Regions from separate parts of the Homo sapiens genome. Here region 1 is linked to region 2. The links are contacts of gene promoters, found by promoter capture Hi-C in human tissues and cell types (Jung and others, 2019). All regions are on one chromosome and are shown on one strand. Each heading gives the region's core, a stretch centred on a gene start or on the middle of the fragment in contact. The rest is flanking DNA. Distances are from core to core; before and after follow the strand shown.

The links. The method cuts DNA at HindIII sites, captures the fragments that hold promoters and counts their contacts. A contact is called where the count stands out against the background at its distance.
Region 1: a fragment that was not itself captured here is called in contact with the fragment with the promoter of POLR2C in region 2 in 1 of the 25 tissues and cell types used here (dorsolateral prefrontal cortex).

The regions. Positions count from the first base shown.
Region 1 is chr16:57,189,572-57,194,533 of GRCh38, forward strand. The region is part of intron 1 of RSPRY1 (ring finger and SPRY domain containing 1); the gene reads left to right. Among named protein-coding and RNA genes, the nearest start is that of RSPRY1, 5.7 kb to the left of the region's middle. The HindIII fragment of the contact is 4,068 bases long and covers 1-3,643 here.
Region 2 is chr16:57,461,416-57,466,409 of GRCh38, forward strand. POLR2C (RNA polymerase II subunit C) reads left to right here and starts at 1,264. Exons shown (of 9, transcript NM_032940.3): 1 at 1,264-1,395; 2 at 1,614-1,663; 3 at 4,538-4,606; 4 at 4,760-4,812. The coding sequence starts at 1,310. RefSeq lists an enhancer at 1,122-1,416. The HindIII fragment of the contact is 18,274 bases long and covers 1-4,994 here.

The DNA.
Region 1 (4,962 bases), core at 360-2,859, 270 kb before region 2:
TTTTTCTTTTTCTTTTCTTTTCTTTTTTTTTTTTTTTTGAGACAGGGTCTCATGCTGTCTCTCAGGCTAGAGTGCAGTGGTGCAATCACGGCTCACAGAAGCCTCTACCTCCCAGGCTCAGGTGATCCTCCCACATCAGCCTCCCAAGTAACTGGGACTACAGGTGCGAGCCACCACACCTGGCCAATTTTTGCACTTTTTTTAAGACAGGGTTACGCCATGTTGCCCAGGCTGGTCTCAAACTCCTGGGCACAAGCCATCCACCCACCTTGGCCTCCCAAGGTGCTAGGATTACAGGTGTGAGCCACCATGCCTGGCCTCGTGAGCTTAATTTAGTCTGTTGAGAATTGTATATGCTTTCCTTAACAATGAAGTAATTTGTTCTAATGAAGTGGGAAATCCCTTTGCATCTTTTTAAATACAGCTTTCTTTCACACTCTATATAGTTTGGAGAAAATGTTAGGAATTCTTGAAGGTAGTAATCACTATTACACTACTTAAGATTGGAAGTTATGGCTGGGCATGGTGGCTCACACCTATAATCACAACACTTTGGGCGGCCAAGGCGGGAGGATCACTTGAGCCCAGGAGTTCAAGACCAGCCTGGGCAACATGGCAAAACCCCATCTCTACAAAAAAATACAAAAATTAGCCCAGCGTGGTGGCACATGCAGATAGTCCCAGCTACTTGGGAGGCTGAGGTGGTAGAATCTCTTGAGCCTGGGAGGTTGAAGATGCAGTGAGCCACTGCATTCCAGCCTGGGTGACAGAGCAACACCCTGTCTCAAATAAATAAATAGGAAATGTTCTGTATTTTTTAGTAGGATACTTGTAAAGTGGGGTGTGATAGTCTCAGGATTGCAAAATAAGTGGAAAGTCAGTAGTCACCACAAATGGGAAACACAGTGGAACCAGCAATCTATTTCAAAAGAATTATTTGGGGATAATAAACTATGGATTTAGCTTCTCTTCAAGCTTTTGGCATTTTCAAGGCAGTTATCATTGAATTTGGGTAGTTTTTTCCCTGATATTCAAATTAGAAAATTGAAAAGCAGAATAATCACGAAGTAGTAAATGCCGTAACTTGGGCAACAGCCTTTTGGAGGGGACTTTTACAACTTTTAGAAGTGCAAAGGAGTGAATATTTCCCTTTGGTTTATCATTCAGTAAGTCAGCTTTTGAAATCCTTTTCTTGCCAACCTTTGTGAGTAGAGAAAACATACAAATGTGTCCATTCCAAAAGGGAGTGGTTGCTGGTTAAATATGTAAAAGTAGTAACTTTAGATAAATGTGTGGTATATACAAGGTTAAATCAGGAAAAGTTATCTTATAAATAGTGGTGGCCTCTTAGAGAACATTCCGCTTTGTTTCTGAGCTTTTGAAAACTGAGAATACATTTGAAATAGTAAGGAATTTATGTACTCCTTAAATTTGTTAAGGAATGAACTCTGCACATAGCTTTCTTGTTGCTTGAAATTATAGTTTCCAGGCGTAATTTCATAGGTCCTATGTACCTCAAATAGAAGGTTTGAAATACCTTACTCAGCAAGTATATTACCTCATAGTTTAATGTTCAGTGTTAGTTTTTTCTTACCCCTCTACCTCCTGAAGAATTGTTTTCGCTCTTGTGTTCCCTTAATGCAGTGATTCTCAAGATGTGGTTTCTGCCCAGTCCCTCCACATGGGAAATATAGCACTGTTTGTTTGTTTTTTTAAGTTTTTATTGCTTCATAGTTGTTCATACTTAGGTATGCCTAAGGGCTACTTATTAATAACCTACCAAGTGAATTACTAAGGATTACTAAAACATGGTATTCATAACCTAAAACTAGAACAATATTGGAGTTTACTGTGGTCTCTTAATACTTTTTTCGCCCAGGAAGTCTGTCCTGGGAAACCTGGCACCAATACAAGCTTCTCACATGTCATATGCAGAATGGGGATTCCTGCAGTATTCAGGAAGTATGCTTAGTTTGGGGTGCATCATCTGAATTGTCTCAAAATAATGTCAGTTTTCATCATGATTCCTCTTTTTTTATTAGAATTTTTATTTAACTTCATCTTTATCAATTTAATTTATAGGTTTTTTTGTTTACTTTTCATTGTGTGGGCAGGAATATTTATACCAACAATATTTTGGCTTATAATGTAAGACATAAATGTGTTACAATGCAAAGATAGATTCTCTAGTCCCCTTTTGCTATTGCTGATTTGTATAGTCACCTAAAAACTTGCTCACACAGAGGTACTTCAGTGTTACCAAAGTTCCTTTTACACTGGAAAACTGATGGAACAAGAGGCCTCCTTCTAGTAGATGCTTTATCTGTAGTCTTTGGGTAGGGAGCTAAGTTTGTCCCTAACCCCAGCTCCCTTTGTCAGGAGCATGAGGGACCTTTTTCCGTCTTTCCTCACTGCCTGCCATATAAGCATTGGATATATAGTTATTGAATGGTGTTGTCTCAGTTTTTCAAAATGGTAAATATTTTGGAGAGACTTTATGTTACAGATTTTAGAATAAATTCACCTAAGATATTTATTGAATACATATTAGGGTCTAATAAGTATCCAAATGAGTATGCAGTATGAGTGTTTTAGACATCATTTAAAGTAGACATCATTAAGGAAAATGTTGATATTCATGCTGCTTATATATTTTATTTGCTTTTCTTAAGAGCAGAGAGTTTTCTGTAATAGAAAAATCCTTTTCCTTCAGATTTGTGTATATTTGAATAACACATGATCTCCTATTATTTGGCCTCCTGGGGGGAAAACCACAAGTACTACGGAATATTACATTTGTTTTTCTTCCCTGTACTGCAACCGTCATAAGCATTTACCTCAATTCTTCCTTAGTATTTTTTGGGAGTCCAAGGCAAATTTTTCAATCCTTAAGATTTCAGGCAGGGATTATTTACTTCCCCTTTTTTACTATTATTTGCTTCCGGAAATTCCTTACTCTATCCTAGGCCTAAATTTTATTTTTTAGTAAATTATTTGAATGCTGAAAGGATTTGTCTTTTCTCCTTTGTACCATTTTAGGTCAGGACTATATTCTGTAATTCTTTCTGACCACAGATGCACTGCTACTAGGTTAAAAAAGCTCTCAACTTTTTAGAGGAAGGTTTTTCCAGAGACTCTTTTTTTTTTTTTTTTTTTTAAGGTCTCACTCTGTCTCCTAGGCTGAAGTGCAGTGGTGCGATCATGGTTTACTGCAGCCTCGACCTCCCCAGCTCAGGCGATCCTCCCACCCCTCACTCCCACTGCCCTTCCCAGTAGCTGGACTATAGGGTCCAAGCCGCCACTCTGGCTAATTTGTGTATTTTTTGTAGAAACAGGGTTTCGCCATGTTGCCCAGGCTGGTCTCAAATTCTTGGGCTCAAGCTGTCTGCCTGCCTTGGCCTCCCAGAGTGTTGGGATTACAGGTGTGAGCCACCATGCCCTGCTCAGATAGTCTTTCAACCAGAAAAAAATACCTACTTTCAAAGGTGTGCTTTCTTAAAGATCCTCAGTGCATAAGGGAAATGTCAGAATCATCCAGTGCTTTTCCCAGACTTCTTGACAGTTACAGTTCAGGAGTTAATGGTACTCTGTGTGACCTAAACCTACGGTTAGATAGCTTTGGACATCTGGGAGGCAAGTAAAAACGCCTCATCAAGACAACCTTTCTTTTTGTGGGAAAAGTAAAATTCCAACCAAATATTTCACAATCTACCCCCTTCTTACCTTCCCCAATGAAATACCAGAGGCTTTAGAGTCTAAAGACAGAAACACTCTTGTTGAAACATCTTTAGGTAGTTTCTGTTTCAGCTGGCAAGTGTAATCTTCATGCATTACCAAATCAGTATTGTTGACTTGAGATTTTCCCTATTTAAACACAATCTTCAGTAAGAAGATTGTGGTCTTTGGGGTGTTCTGCAGGCTTTTTTTTTTTTTTCTTTGGAGACAGAGTCTTGCTCTGTCACCCAGGCTTGAGGGTAGTGGGATGATCTCGGCTCACTGCAACCTCCACCTTCTGGATTCAAGTGATCTTCCCACCTCAGCCTCCCAAGTAGCTGGAATTACAGGCACACGCCACTGTGCCTGGCTAATTTTTGTATTTTTTTAAGCAAATATGTTTCTAGATAATGTTCTCTATCTTGATAGGGTTTGAGTCACAGGTATATGCATTTGATAAAACTCAGCACGTTACTGTGCTTAAGATTTGCACATTTCAGCCGGGTGCGGTGGCTCACGCCTGTAATCCCAGCACTTTGGGAGGCCGAGGTGGACAGATCATTTGAGGTCAGGAGTTTGAGACCAGCCTAGCCCACATGGTGAAACCCCATCTCTACTGAAAACACAAACATTAGCTGGGTGTGGTGGCATGTGCCAATAATCCCAGCTACTCAGGAGGCTGAGGCAGGAGAATTACTTGAACCCGGGAGACAGAGTTTGTGGTAAACTGGGATCACACCAGTGCACTCCATCCTGGGCAACAGAATGAGATTCCGTTTAAAAAAAAAAAAGATTTGCACATTTCAGTGTATGTAAATTCGACTCCTAAAAACTTGAAGTTTATTGAAGTCTAATTAGTGATATGCATGCTGAATTATTTAAGAGAAAGTATACTGATGCCTATAGTTTACTTTGAAATATGTAAAAAAAACTGAATGGATTAATGATGGATAAGAGATGGATAGCGATAAAGCAAGTTTAGTAAAATGTTAGTAGTAGAGTCTAGGTGGTGGGGATAAAGCAAGTTTAGTAAAATGTTAGTAGTAGAATCTAGGTGGTGGGTATATAGTTCACAGTTTACAGTGAACTCTAATTCAATTTTCTGTATGTTTGGAAAATTTCATAATAAAATATTGGGAGTGGGGAGTAAATGTGATGATAGAAGCTATCTCTTTAACACACTTAGGGAAAAATCCGAAAACATTTTCTAATGAGAGAACATCATTAAAATTTTCAGGATGTTACACA
Region 2 (4,994 bases), core at 14-2,513:
CTCTGGGCTCAAGTCTTCCCATCAGTAAAATACGGGTAACAGAAGCCTTCCCACAGACCATCAGCTCCCTTGGCTGCTCTTGTCTGACGATTTTAGTGGTACATTCTTTAGCCCCAGTAATTTTCTCAGCCTCTACACTGGCTGGGTTCCCTTTGCACGTCTGGTTAGCTCTGTTTTCTGCTTTGCTCTCTTCTGCCTGTCAGCTGAATATTAATGGGGGAAAGTCAGCAACTAATTGAATTTCAGATCTCTTGTGGGTCTTCCACTGGATCTTTTTTGCACCTCTCAATTCCTTGTATCTCTTGACATCCTGTGAAGTTTTCGCAGTAGCTGTTCCAGTTTTCATTGCATTCTCCTTTTTCCTTCATAGCATCCATCTTACACTCAGCAGACAACCATAATTCTTAATTTACCAAGATGACACAGGTTATGGAGCAGGGTTCCATCAGTGCCCACCCTCTGTTTCAGGAAGAGGTGTCACTCTTTGCAAAGGCAAACTCCTCTTTATCTGGTTACTCTTCTCCCAACTCTTAAATGTATTTCCTGCCACGTTCTATTTTAGAGCTTTTCTCTGTTGGAGCAGCAGCCACTTTTTTTGAGGCCCATTTAAACCTCTCTCCAGTCTGTTTAGGGGACTTCAGTAGTTCTTTGTTGAGCATGCACCCCACATGGTGCCCACTGCCAGGCACTGGGGATGCAGAGACAAAGAGTTCCCACTCACCCACCACAGCTACACAGACTGTAGAGGAAGCATTAGGTTAAAGAACATTGTATCTTTTCCTGAAGTTTTCAGAAGTGCATGGTCCATACTTGAGACTGCAAGGGAAAGGGTATTTACTTATAATTCAGGTATACTTTGCTAAAATATACATTCATATTAAAATATACTTTTGTTTTTCTATAGATGTACAAGTTCTTTTTAAGTGCTTCATAGTATTCCATGTGTGTATACTCCACCAGGTCTCTTATCAATGGACAGTACAAACAGTACTACCACGAACGTCCCTGCACTCGTATCTTTGTTTACAACTGCAAGTGTTTCTGCAGTATGAATTCTTAGAAGTGTTACTGTTAAGTGAAGGACGTATGCGTGTTTTGCCAAACTACCCTCCGAGATAGCTGAATCTGGTACATTTTAAAGCAGGAGGCCGCAGAAGACGCTCGGCAGTTCTGGCCTCCGAGCAGCAGGCGGCGCTGTGAGTCGTCTTTGCGGAAGCCGCGGAGGCCTCGCTGACTGACTTCCGGTGTTGGCGGTGGCGCCGCGCAGTCACCGCGGAGCAGACGCGGAGGCTGGTGGCCCCTGGGCGAGATGCCGTACGCCAACCAGCCTACCGTGCGGATCACGGAGCTCACTGACGAGAATGTCAAGTTCATCATCGAGAACACCGACCTGGCGTAAGGCTACCGAGGGAAGAGGCTGGCGGCTCTGGGGCGCCGGGAGGCCCAAGCCGGGGCCCCGGGGCAGGGGGCGGGGGTGTAGTGGGGTGGGGTGGGGGCGATGTCCTTCCAGAGCTGCCCCCCTGCACCAGGGCTTTAGCTTTGGGAGCCTGCGGCGCGGGCCCAGCCTGTCGAGGCTGCAGCGCCTTCACGCCCCTTGGCTTTTGATCTTTCAGGGTGGCCAATTCGATTCGGAGGGTCTTCATCGCTGAGGTTCCCATAATAGGTAAGCGACTCCCCTTCCTCGTTCCCGCGCCCACGGGTTCCTGCCCCGCTCTCCACCCACACACTCTTTGGGGCTCCTTCCAGTCCTTGGTTCGGGCTGAGGGTGGTAGTGCTGAGAAAAGTGCATTGCTGGAGACTTGACCATACCCTGTGCCCTTGGCTCAGTGGCCGCCTCCCTGGCGCCCACGGGCCACTTAGGTCCACCCTTGTCCTGGGTATGCATTGCTGAGAAGCATGGGTTTAGCAGTGTGCAGACTTGGGTTCAAATACTGTTTTCACTACTATTGTTACAAAAGTTTTTAAAATGTTTTCAACTTTTATTTTGGAGTCAAGGGGTACATTGGTGCAGGTTTGTTGCCTGGGTATAGTGCGTGATGCTGAGATTTGGGGTATAAATGATCCTTTCACCCAGGTAGTGAGCATAGTACGCAATAGGTAGTTTTTCACCCCTAGCCCCACTGCCTCCCTTCCAGCTCTAGTAGTCACCAGTGTGTTTATTGTCATCTTTATGTCCGTGCGTACCCAGTTTTAGCTCCCATGCGGTGTTTGGTTTTCTGTTCCTGTGTTAATTCTCTTAGGATAATGGCTTCCAGGCCGCGCTCGCGCCTGTAATTCCAGCACTTTGGGAGGCCAAGACTGAGGAACACCTGAGGCCAGGAGTTTGAGACCAGCCTGGCCAACATGGGGAAAGCCCGCCTCTACTAAAAATGCAAAAATTAGCCAGGTGTGGTGGCTCCCACCTGTAATCCCAGCTACTGGGGAGGCTGAGGCAGAATTGATTGAACCCAGAAGGTGGAGGTTGCAGTGAGCCGAGATCATGCCACTGCACTCTGGCCTGGGCAATAGAGTGAGACTCCTTCTCAAACAAAAGAAAATAAAAAAGAAGATAGTGGCTTCCAGCCACGTCCATGTTGCTGCAGAGGACATGATTTCGTTCGTTCTTATGGCTGCATCACTTACTGCTTTTGTGAAACTTGGGCAAGTTATTAAACTTCTGTGTGCTGCAGTTTCCTCATCTGTAACATTCGGCCACTAATGATCCTTATCAGGGTAATGTTAAGGATTAAGTGAGGTAATCCATATAAGTGCTTTGTGTTTAGTGAGTGCTCAGTGCTGGTAGATGGCTTTTTTATTAATCTATTCCTTCAACAGCATTTATGGAGCATGAAAGTGGCAGGCATGGTGGTAAGCTCTGGGAATGCAAAGCTGTAGAGAACAGGGTTTTTGCCCTCATGGAGTCCACAGTGAGGTTGTAGGGGAGAGATGAATCCACAGACAACACTAAAGCAAGGTAGATTTTGATCAGTAGTTCAGGAGAAGCATAGCTGTGGTGCACTTGGCTCTTAGAGGAGGGAAGATCAATTTCTGGTCTGGTTCCAGCCACTCTGCTCCAGGTGCTTAATGCATTGATTATACTTGTATGAAATACTTCAAGCATTTCTGAGAGTCAGCTCAGAGAGTTTGGATTAGGCAAAATAAATATAAGTCATAGCTGTGGCATCAAATATTCAGACTTTTAAGGAAATAAGCAGGCCAAATGATTAGGCAAGAGAACATTGTAGTTTATCCACTACCACCACCACCCCACCCCCCCGCCCCCCAGTCACTTCTTAAATTCAGCTTGGAGTGCTGGACCTCCCCCTGCCTAAGCACTTCATGCCTCTGGACCTCAGTTTCATCAGGAGTCAGGTGAGGGAGTTGTACTTCATGATGCAGCCCTGCCATTCTGAGTCTAAATGCCTCTTTCCCAACAAATTCAGTTCTACAAATAATATTGAGCACCCATGCTAGGAATACAAAGACATCCCAGGACCTGCGTGAAGGAATTTCTGAAGCTTGAGGTATAGACATAACATACACAAATATGACACAAGGCACACTATGACAAGTGTCTTGAGGGAAGTCTGAACAGAGTTTTGTGAGAGAGGAGTTGAAAGGGAGGGAATGTCACATCTGTAGCATAGAGAGCAGGCAAGGCTTAGTTTTCAGGAGGCACAGAGGATCTTAACCTGTACAGCAAGGAGGGGAAGGGTGTGCTGGAGGGAAGGGCTGGGGGATTAAAGAGGCAGAAAAGCTTGGGTCAGGGTTCTCTCAGTTGGCTTGGACTGGGGAAGCAATGGGAAGCATAGCAGGACAGAGCAGGTGGAGGCCTGGCAGGGGGAGGTCCTCTTCCGACCGCTGTTCCTAGTGTCTGTGTCCCTCGTTTGGCAGTTGGGCTCCAGTGCCATTTGATTCCTGGATTTAGTTGGTTCCATGCAAATGTTTATGAATGAATAAATGTGTGTTTAAGTCAAGCATGTGTGATCGATAATACAGTCTTTACCCTCCTACGAGCTCATTGCTGCTAGGGATTGGGTTCTATATTTAGTATACTTTGCGCATTAAAAGAATTCAGTAAACATTTGTTGATTGAGTGTTTAAAAAGTGCTAAGTTGGGCAGTCCAGTCATTATATCCTAAAATGAGGTATGGCCCCATAAGTCTGTGTTGCTTCTGTGAGGGTTTCCCTGACTTTGAAGTGCTCAAATAGTTCATGTTCTTGGATTTAGTGGTGGCACAGGTAGCAGATTTAAGTGCTTCTCATGCAAATACTCAGCTCAAATAAACATGTTTCCACTTCTATGATATTCTATAAGTCAGTGTTTTCTGTGAAGCAGGGAGCCCCCTGCATTAAATTCACCTGGGCAGGGAGGTGAGGTGTGGTGTGTGTGGGTCTTATTAAAATGCAAGTACCTGGGCCCCACTCTAATGCTGTGGAATCAGCCCAGCAATCTGCAGTTTAGTGTCAGGTGATTCCTAAATCTTGAGAACCACTGCATTAAGTCTGTAGGTAAATTTGATGGCTAAACTCCATGTCTGCTTCTTTCATTTTTTAGCCATTGACTGGGTTCAGATTGATGCCAATTCCTCAGTTCTTCATGATGAATTCATTGCTCACAGGCTTGGTGAGTACTCCTTTTACTAGGAGGTTAAAGGGAGGGTATTGTGCCTAGTGTCAGGAGGGGGCCTCCTTCCAGCCTCACCCCCAGAAGGCTTCTGGGTTCTCATTTTGGCTTGGCTGTTTGGTTTTCTTTAAAGTGCTTTTCTGTTTTTTACAGGATTAATTCCCCTCATTAGTGATGACATTGTGGACAAGCTGCAGTACTCTCGGGTATGTTGTGTGATTGGGTGGAATGTGAGGTTTGGTGGGGAGGCTTTGGTTCTCAAAGGGATTTTTCCTGACATTTGGCATCCAGCTTGAATACTGTTGTAGTTCTGGAACAACAACGTGGAGATGTTGTCTAGAGCCTGGGCAGGCCTTGGTCCTGCGTTCTGATGGGGCTTCAGATTGAT